Linked DNA regions of Homo sapiens: region 1 is linked to region 2. Evidence: promoter capture Hi-C in human tissues and cell types (Jung and others, 2019). All regions are on one chromosome and are shown on one strand. Each heading gives the region's core, a stretch centred on a gene start or on the middle of the fragment in contact. The rest is flanking DNA. Distances are from core to core; before and after follow the strand shown.

Region 1 (3,733 bases), core at 888-3,387, 360 kb before region 2:
TCTCACATAATGTGAAGAGGCTTAATGTGAAGTTTTGTTATTTTGGTCTCTTTTTTATTAAGTATCTCACTTAGAAATTCAGTGGTATACTTTAAAGCACTTGGATCTTTTTCAGCATATCTGCCTAGCAAATGTTTTAAAATTGACATTTATTTTTAGCACTTTCACTTGGTGAAGGTGGCCATATAAAATTAAGGAACATTTGAACAATATAAGAGAAAAGAACTTTTAAGGAACAATTCACAAAGTTTGTTTGAAATTGTCAGATGACATTTCTTGAGTACCTTTTGTGTGCATAGTTATTTTAGACAATATAAGCTGTTATGGTCAGCATAACTTAAAAGTGTTTAGTTTTCTATTTTACTGAGCCTTAAAAATAGCACTGATGAGCTTATGATACTTAATGTTTGGCAATCATAATGTGTTCAAATTAATGGGATTGAAAATCTCTCCACACCTGACTCTCATCTGATCTGGATGGTTTTGGTTTTGTATCTTTTTTACTTCTCCCAGAAAATACTAAATTTAAAACTGTAAATTAAGAATATACCACTAGATAACAATTATCAAATTGAGCTTTATGCATCATTACTCAGAAAGCTTGCCTTCCTTTCTTTGCTACTTCAGGACACAGAGTTGACATTTGCTTACTACAGCTTTAGATCTAGAAGTTTATTCGTGCAACAAATATTTATTGAGTAATTTATACTGTGCCAGGCATGTTTTGATATGTTTCTGTCATATGTTTTGATATGTTCCAACATAAGTTTCTGTCACTTTATATTCAGTATATATTTTCTACAGTGGGTAAATTTAACAAATGGAAAGGAATAGAACACTGATATTTTACAGAATTAAACCCCTTCATTGTAAGGGCTTTGTTTACATATTAAGTGTCAAGTATTTATTCAGGGGATCTTATTTCATTGTATTTTATCTGTTATCTAGGTTGTCCATTTACCGGTTGGACACTGATACTCTGTCAAATTCCTTTCAAAAATGACTCTTTAGTCTGCTGAAATTTAGCACTAGTACTTTAGTGTTCTGATCCTGGAAAATTCAAGGTGAAGCTTTATTTGTGGACCATCTGATTTAATTATTGAGGATTAAAAACCTAAACCTTTGCTCATTCTAAACTCAAGCTTTTAAGCCTCACAGAATTTACAGGGGTTTGCTTTTTGTTTGTTTGTTTTTTCATTTTTTACTGTGCTTATTAAACTCTTGGAATTAGTTATTAAAGGGAGTAAATTCTCATCTTGGGAATTTTGAAAATCTATGGACTTACAACTTTCAGGAGGATTAAATGTCTTAAGTTTTGTACTAGAGCAGAATGAAATCTTTCCTATTCATTGAGTTTTTGCCTGCCATAGAGGAATTTTTTTAAAAATTAAAATGACAGTTTATATTAGTGGCAAAGTGAATAAAGACCTCACTTTCCCACCCCACCCTTCTTCCTTTCTCTTACTTTTCTTTGGATTAAAGGTCAGGTGTAGTACTATGAAGATTCACTCCTGAATAAAGTGATTTCAGAAGCTAAAATTTAACATACCTGGAAATTTTGTGATGTGTTAGCCAAGTGAAGACATTAGTGTGTTCCATCTTTTGCTAATGGTTCATGGTTGATTTCTTCATTGTTTCCCATGAAATTAGCATAGTCAAGTGGTACCCTTGACGCTTGACTGCTGGTCAGTTTGACCCTGTTTTTAACAACTAATGTAGTCATGCCGCTTGATTATTCCATGAAGTCCCAGCAAAATAATAATGAGGAATTAACTAACATTATGTTATCTATCTAATTTGTCTGTGTCCCTAAATGCCCATGCCTAACTTGCTTCTCTAGTTTATTCCTTCTGTGGAGGGATTAAAACGTGGGTGTTGCAAGTTGCCCTAAGCTAAACATAGTTTTCTTACATCTTTTTGGGAAAAAAAATGGAATGGGAAGTATGCAAGATTAAGCAAGAGTGATTTTTTTTTTTTTTTGACAAATCAGGTGGCCTTCCTAAACATACTAAGAATTATGTTCTTTCATGTGTGGAGACACATTTGTTTGCAGCACTTTAAAAAATATATATGGAATAAAAGTTTACATGTTGGCCCTCTAGGGATCTAATTAAGGACATTAAAGTACAATTCTTGAGCTACTAACCATCAGCTCTTCTTAATCAAAGATTGCCATCAGTGTAGAGTGTATCTATTGGCACAACATTCTGGTGTTTTGATAACAGTAGAACTCAATTTCAGTAACTATTAGGAGCATGGTCTGTGCCCTAGCATTAAAAATGTTACTTATTATTATGTGAATATCTTGTATTATTATACAATGCAGTATTCAAATTTGTCCTTGTAGTGCAGAGATGACTGATAATTTCTAAAAGATTCGATCCTTAAAACTTGTTTCCAAGCAGACTTATAAGGAAGCTGATTTTTGAGTCAGAGGCCTTAAACGTGTCATATACAAGTGGCATCATTTTAAGTCCAAAGTGAAACACTTGATTTGAATAAGCTAGTTTATAAACTAAAGCTGTTTTCTTATGTTACAGTATTTCAGCACATTTCATTCCACATAAAAAGAATATTAAGTGTCCCTGGTTGTGGGAGAGTGTTTATTTTTCTCAAAATTATCTAGCATTTTGCTTACAGTGCTTTGAATGTTTGACTTAAAATTATTATTGATGTTGAATTGTAGGGTGCTGATTTAGGTCTTGATTCATACACATTTAAAGGAGGTTGGTAACCCCCTCATGGTAGAGTGAAGGGAGAAAAGGGCCAAGAAGACAAAGTACCACTGATAAAGAAGAGATTGTCAAATAGATGCATTCCTAGTCATGAATTACCCTTTTCCAAACATTTTTAAAGCAATGCCTTTGTGTCAACTCAACCCTTCTTCCCCATTTCTTGTCATAGAATGTAGCATGGCCATAGGTGAAAAAGCTTATCATTAAAGTATGAAACCATGAATTATAAGCATTTTGCCATGATGCCCTTTTATACATATGTTTTTAAAAGTACTAACCAACATATAGGAGTTTAGGAATGGTGAAGATATAATTTGATTAAGTTGTAGGTAAACAGAAAGGATCATCTTAGGCTCAGAATTTCTAATATGATTACATGAGTCTACTTTATAAACTGGTATAGGCTATGTAATTAGCCCGTAAGTTACTTAAAGGACCAGGGGACCTAATTTTTGTCAGTTTTCCAGTCACATTGGTGCCATTCAGGACTCCAGCTGTTTACAGGAAATATGTACTTAGCAGAATAGTATTTTTCCTTGAAAAAAATTTGAATTCAGCCTAAATACAGAATGAATATGAATAGTTTGTGAAAAGGGTTAGAGAACAACAATATTCCTATAGTTTCTGTATTAATGCAGTAGAGACAGAGGTTCCTAACGCAAAAAGAAAACCACAAGTAAAGACCGTCAAATTAGAGCTTTAGAATATGACTTGAAAAAGTAGGGATGGGCAAAACAGCATAAGAAAATATTTTTTCTTAATGCAGATGGACAGTGTTTTCTTGTTTTAAAAATGTTTTGCCTATTTGCCAGCATTTTTTGAAGTAATACACTGCTGCTACCTGGAAGATGTCTAACTTCATTTTCTACAACTCTTATGTGATTTTGCCATTGTCATTAAGATGCATTGATTTTATTTATGAGGTGTATGACTTTAAATATCTAAATGCTGTATTAAGTGACTTGTTTCAAAGGAATAAATGAAGTGAAAACGTTGTT
Region 2 (3,612 bases), core at 968-3,467:
GAGGGGACAGCAAACACTCCTGTAAAGACCGTCTGTCACTTCCTCAATGATACAGGTTAACTGTGGTCAAACTGTATTCACCCAACTCCAGTCCCCAAGGTCAGAGCCATGCTCAATCCAAACAACTCCTCCTCCTCCTTTCCCTTCAGTTATGAGTAGGGAAAGAGAAGTCTAAGACACAAATGTTGAAGTGTTGAAGATACTTATCCCCTCTCCAACAGTCAACACTAAACAACAACCGAGATCCCAGAGCAATAACTTACAGTAGAAAGCAAAGCACTGTAACAGGGTTGAGTATGAGAGCAGCAGGAAAACAATTCTAGAGGCCTTAAAATCTAGAAATGGAACATGCTTGCCCCGTACAACCCCGAAGTACTGGTGTTTCTTTTAAAACATCTGATCGTATATTCCAATAGTTCCACCCATACCACATTTCTGAGTTTTGTACTTGACAACTGAAATACAGCTCGCTGTGGGGGCTGAAGGGGAAGAGAAAAATATAACACAGGAAGTATTTTTCTCCTCCTCCAATCATTGAGACACCCCAGGGGAAACAGACCTGAGGCGTCACCTTTAGAGATTGGTTTGACCTGAAACCCCTGTGAGAGGAAAACCTTGTTGGTGACCCTGCAAGACCGGCTCACACTTCACTGCGGACCCACCCATCTCATGAGACCTCCCAGTCCATTGTGTTTAACTTCTGAAGTCGATATTCTCACTTGAATCCTTATTCTCCCCACCACCACACCCCTTAAAGAAAGAAAAGGGATGGGCTCCCCCGGCTCAAGGATAATGTTTCCTCAGACTGCCCATCACGGCGCGAGTCCAGGACAGCAAGTGGCCCTCTCTAGGAGGCGGAATCAGCACGGGCCCGGCCGCGGGTTACAGACTCTGTTCACAATGATCAGCCGGGCCGCGGACACCGCCGGCCTCTCCCCGGAGCCGCCCCGCGCGGGCGTGGGAGGGGGCCAGCTGAGGGGGCCAGCTCCGGGATCCAAATAATCCCGCCCCCGCAGCCGGGGGACACCCAGGACCCTCCCGCCGCACACCTCCTGCCCGGCGCGCCCCAAGGCGGCCCGGCTGCCCTCGCGAGGCTCGGGGAAGTGAAATCACACATTCCGGCTCCCAAATAAGGAGCGAGGCTAAATAAACCTCTGCGATCCGACTTCTCCAAACCAACCGACCAACCGGCTCAATGAGTAATGGGCCTTTTGTGCCCGCAGAGAGAGAAAAAGGAGGGAGGAGAGGACGGGGAACCACCAACCCCAAAATCACTTCCTTGAGATGGAGTGAAATTAGCAGAAGTCCCGAAGCCAACCGTTCTGACTCGGCTGGATCCCGCTCAAACCCCAAAATGGCAGGGTCCCCTGAGTCCCCAGGAGCGGGTCCCAGGGCTCCCGCCCGGGAGCGGCCGGAAGCGGTCAGGGAGGCGAGGGCGCTGGGACCCGCCGCCCGCGCCGCACTCGGCACCGCCGGCCCGGCCGCCCCGCCCCGCCCCGCCGCGGCCACCCCTCCGCCCCGCGCCGCGACCCAGGCCGGGACGGGCACCCGACGCCGTGGAGCTCCAGGGCCCGGGACCGGCCCCGCCTCCCCTCCCCGGGCCCCAGACCTACTTTGAGGGCGAATTTCTCCTGGGTCCTCTTGTTGAAGATCTGCAAAACTTTGCCGTTGATGCCCAGCCCCAGGACCTGGCTGGTGACCTTGTAGTCATCGATGATGGCGTTCTTCTTGATCTGCAGGCCGGACTTGACGTGGAACTGCGGGAACTGCTGCGGGGGCGGCGGCGGCGGCTGCGCCGGGGGGTGCGGCAGGGCAGGGGTGGGGGGCTGCGGCGGCGGGGCCGGGGCGGGGAACGGCACCGGCGGGCTCTGGCCCTGGGAGTTGGACAGCATGGTGCCCGGGGACGCCGGGGCACAGGCGGGGGTGCCCGCGGCCGCCCCCTCCTCCGGCTCCGGGCCCCCTCCCCGCCGCCCCCCGACGGGCTGCGAAGTTCGCTCCGGGCTGGAGCCGGCTTCCCCGACCCGGCCCGGCTCCAGGCTCGGCGGGTCGCGGGGCTCCGTGGGTCCCACCGCGCGCCGCTGGCTCCCACCGGCCCGGCGCCCTCCCTCCCTCCCCCCGGGGGCCTGGCGCTCTGGGGACCGCGGGGCGGCGGGGGCCCGGCCGGGGGGAAGCGGCCGCGCGACAATGTACCCAGCCCCGGGCCGGCGGCCGCGTCACAGCCTCGTCTGCGTCCGGGGCCGGTCCTTAAAGGGGAGGGGCGGGGGGCGGGGCCTGGGGAGGCGTGGCGTGGGGGGAGGGGCGGGCCTTAAAGGGGAGGACGCGCGGTGCCGGGAGCTGGGAGGATCGCGGAGTAGGCTGGGGGCTGCTGCCTCGCGGACAGTGAGAGGGGACAGGGAGAGGGGACGAAGAAATGCTAGTTCTTAACCAAGGCTATGCAAAGGGAGAGGGGAGGCGTGTCAAAGGAGCTGCATAATTCAGATGGAAAATCCACTCCTCTCCAATTGTCTGGGCTTCTTAGCGGCAGCGAATTGGGAGAGGGGTGTATTTCCAAGGACAGGGATGGCTTGTAGGTATCCAGCTAGATGAGACCTCGTGGGGGTGGGGGGGAGCTGGAATCACAGGGGTCATTCATCCCAGGAAAAGGTGTGAGCCAAAGGCGGGCGTATTAAATATTTCCCTAACTTCAACATTTTCCTCTGAGGTTTTTTGCATCTCTTTTCTCATTAATTTATTGTTTTTCAGTAAAGACGTATTATTGTGTAACCAGGAGCACTTTAGTAATTATACCTTTGAACATGTTTTCCTGTAAATAAACTAAAAAGGATACAGGGTGGGAAGAGGATGGGTTGAGATTGGGGCCACCTGAATTCCCGCCATCCTTTGCCACGGATTGGCTGTGTGAGGCTGAGCAAGCCTTGCACCTCTCTCTCCGTGGGAAGAACAGCGAGACCTTTTCAAAGGTTGTGGGCAGAGTCAAAGGAGATAATGAAACTGAAGGGGAGGCCCTGGGGAATGGCTTCTGATTTCCGATGTGGAAAAATTAATCCGTAAGAAGTGGGTTAGCCCCGTGTATCTCAGGAAAAGCCCAGGGATCTAGCTGGACCCTGCATAGAAGCTGCCAGGAGGCCTCCACACACATTCTGATGGGGTTCGAGATGACCAAGTACATTCCTGCCGACCTCCTCCCACCTCTGACTGGCAGAACATTTGAGAAATGGCAAGCAACCCAGACAGGTGAACACAAAACCTCAGCTTAAGTCTTGGTAAGGCCAGTTAGAGAATGAGGCTTGACCTATGGCCACACATGCCCCCTAATAGGTCCCCCAAAACTCCAGAGAGAAGACAACACCCCCAGAAGTGGCCACTGGGGATAGAACTTAGGTAGGTAAGGGACAAGTGCAAATGTCTCTTCCCTCATTCACCTTTCCCAGAAGATGCTTGTGGAGGCAGGAATGAGGGGGAGGAGTGAGGGGTGGGAGTTACCCTCCCAACACTGTCCTTTCCTGGGGCAGGTAGGGCTCTGTGGACCAAGGAGAGACATGTTTCCCCCGACACAAACATATGCTCTTCTCAAGCAGCATCTGCTTAGCTCCATGTACAAGGTGCCGTGCT

The links. Contacts are between HindIII fragments. The study calls those that stand out against the background at their distance.
Region 1: a contact is called between a fragment that was not itself captured here and the fragment with the promoter of MAPKAPK2 in region 2, in 1 of the 25 tissues and cell types used here (adrenal gland).

What each region holds. Positions count from the first base shown.
Region 1 is chr1:207,043,845-207,047,577 of GRCh38, reverse strand. YOD1 (YOD1 deubiquitinase) reads left to right here. Exons shown (of 2, transcript NM_018566.4): 2 at 1-3,729. It also overlaps a transcript of PFKFB2 not described here. Among named protein-coding and RNA genes, the nearest start is that of YOD1, 5.5 kb to the left of the region's middle. The HindIII fragment of the contact is 4,320 bases long and covers 1-3,733 here.
Region 2 is chr1:206,683,510-206,687,121 of GRCh38, reverse strand. MAPKAPK2 (MAPK activated protein kinase 2) reads right to left here and starts at 2,217. Exons shown (of 10, transcript NM_032960.4): 1 at 1,614-2,217. The coding sequence starts at 1,892. LOC124904495 (a long non-coding RNA gene) reads left to right here and starts at 2,316. Exons shown (of 3, transcript XR_007066833.1): 1 at 2,316-3,381; 2 at 3,579-3,612. RefSeq lists silencers at 952-1,041, 1,452-1,541, 1,552-1,601, 2,062-2,241. The HindIII fragment of the contact is 19,561 bases long and covers 1-3,612 here.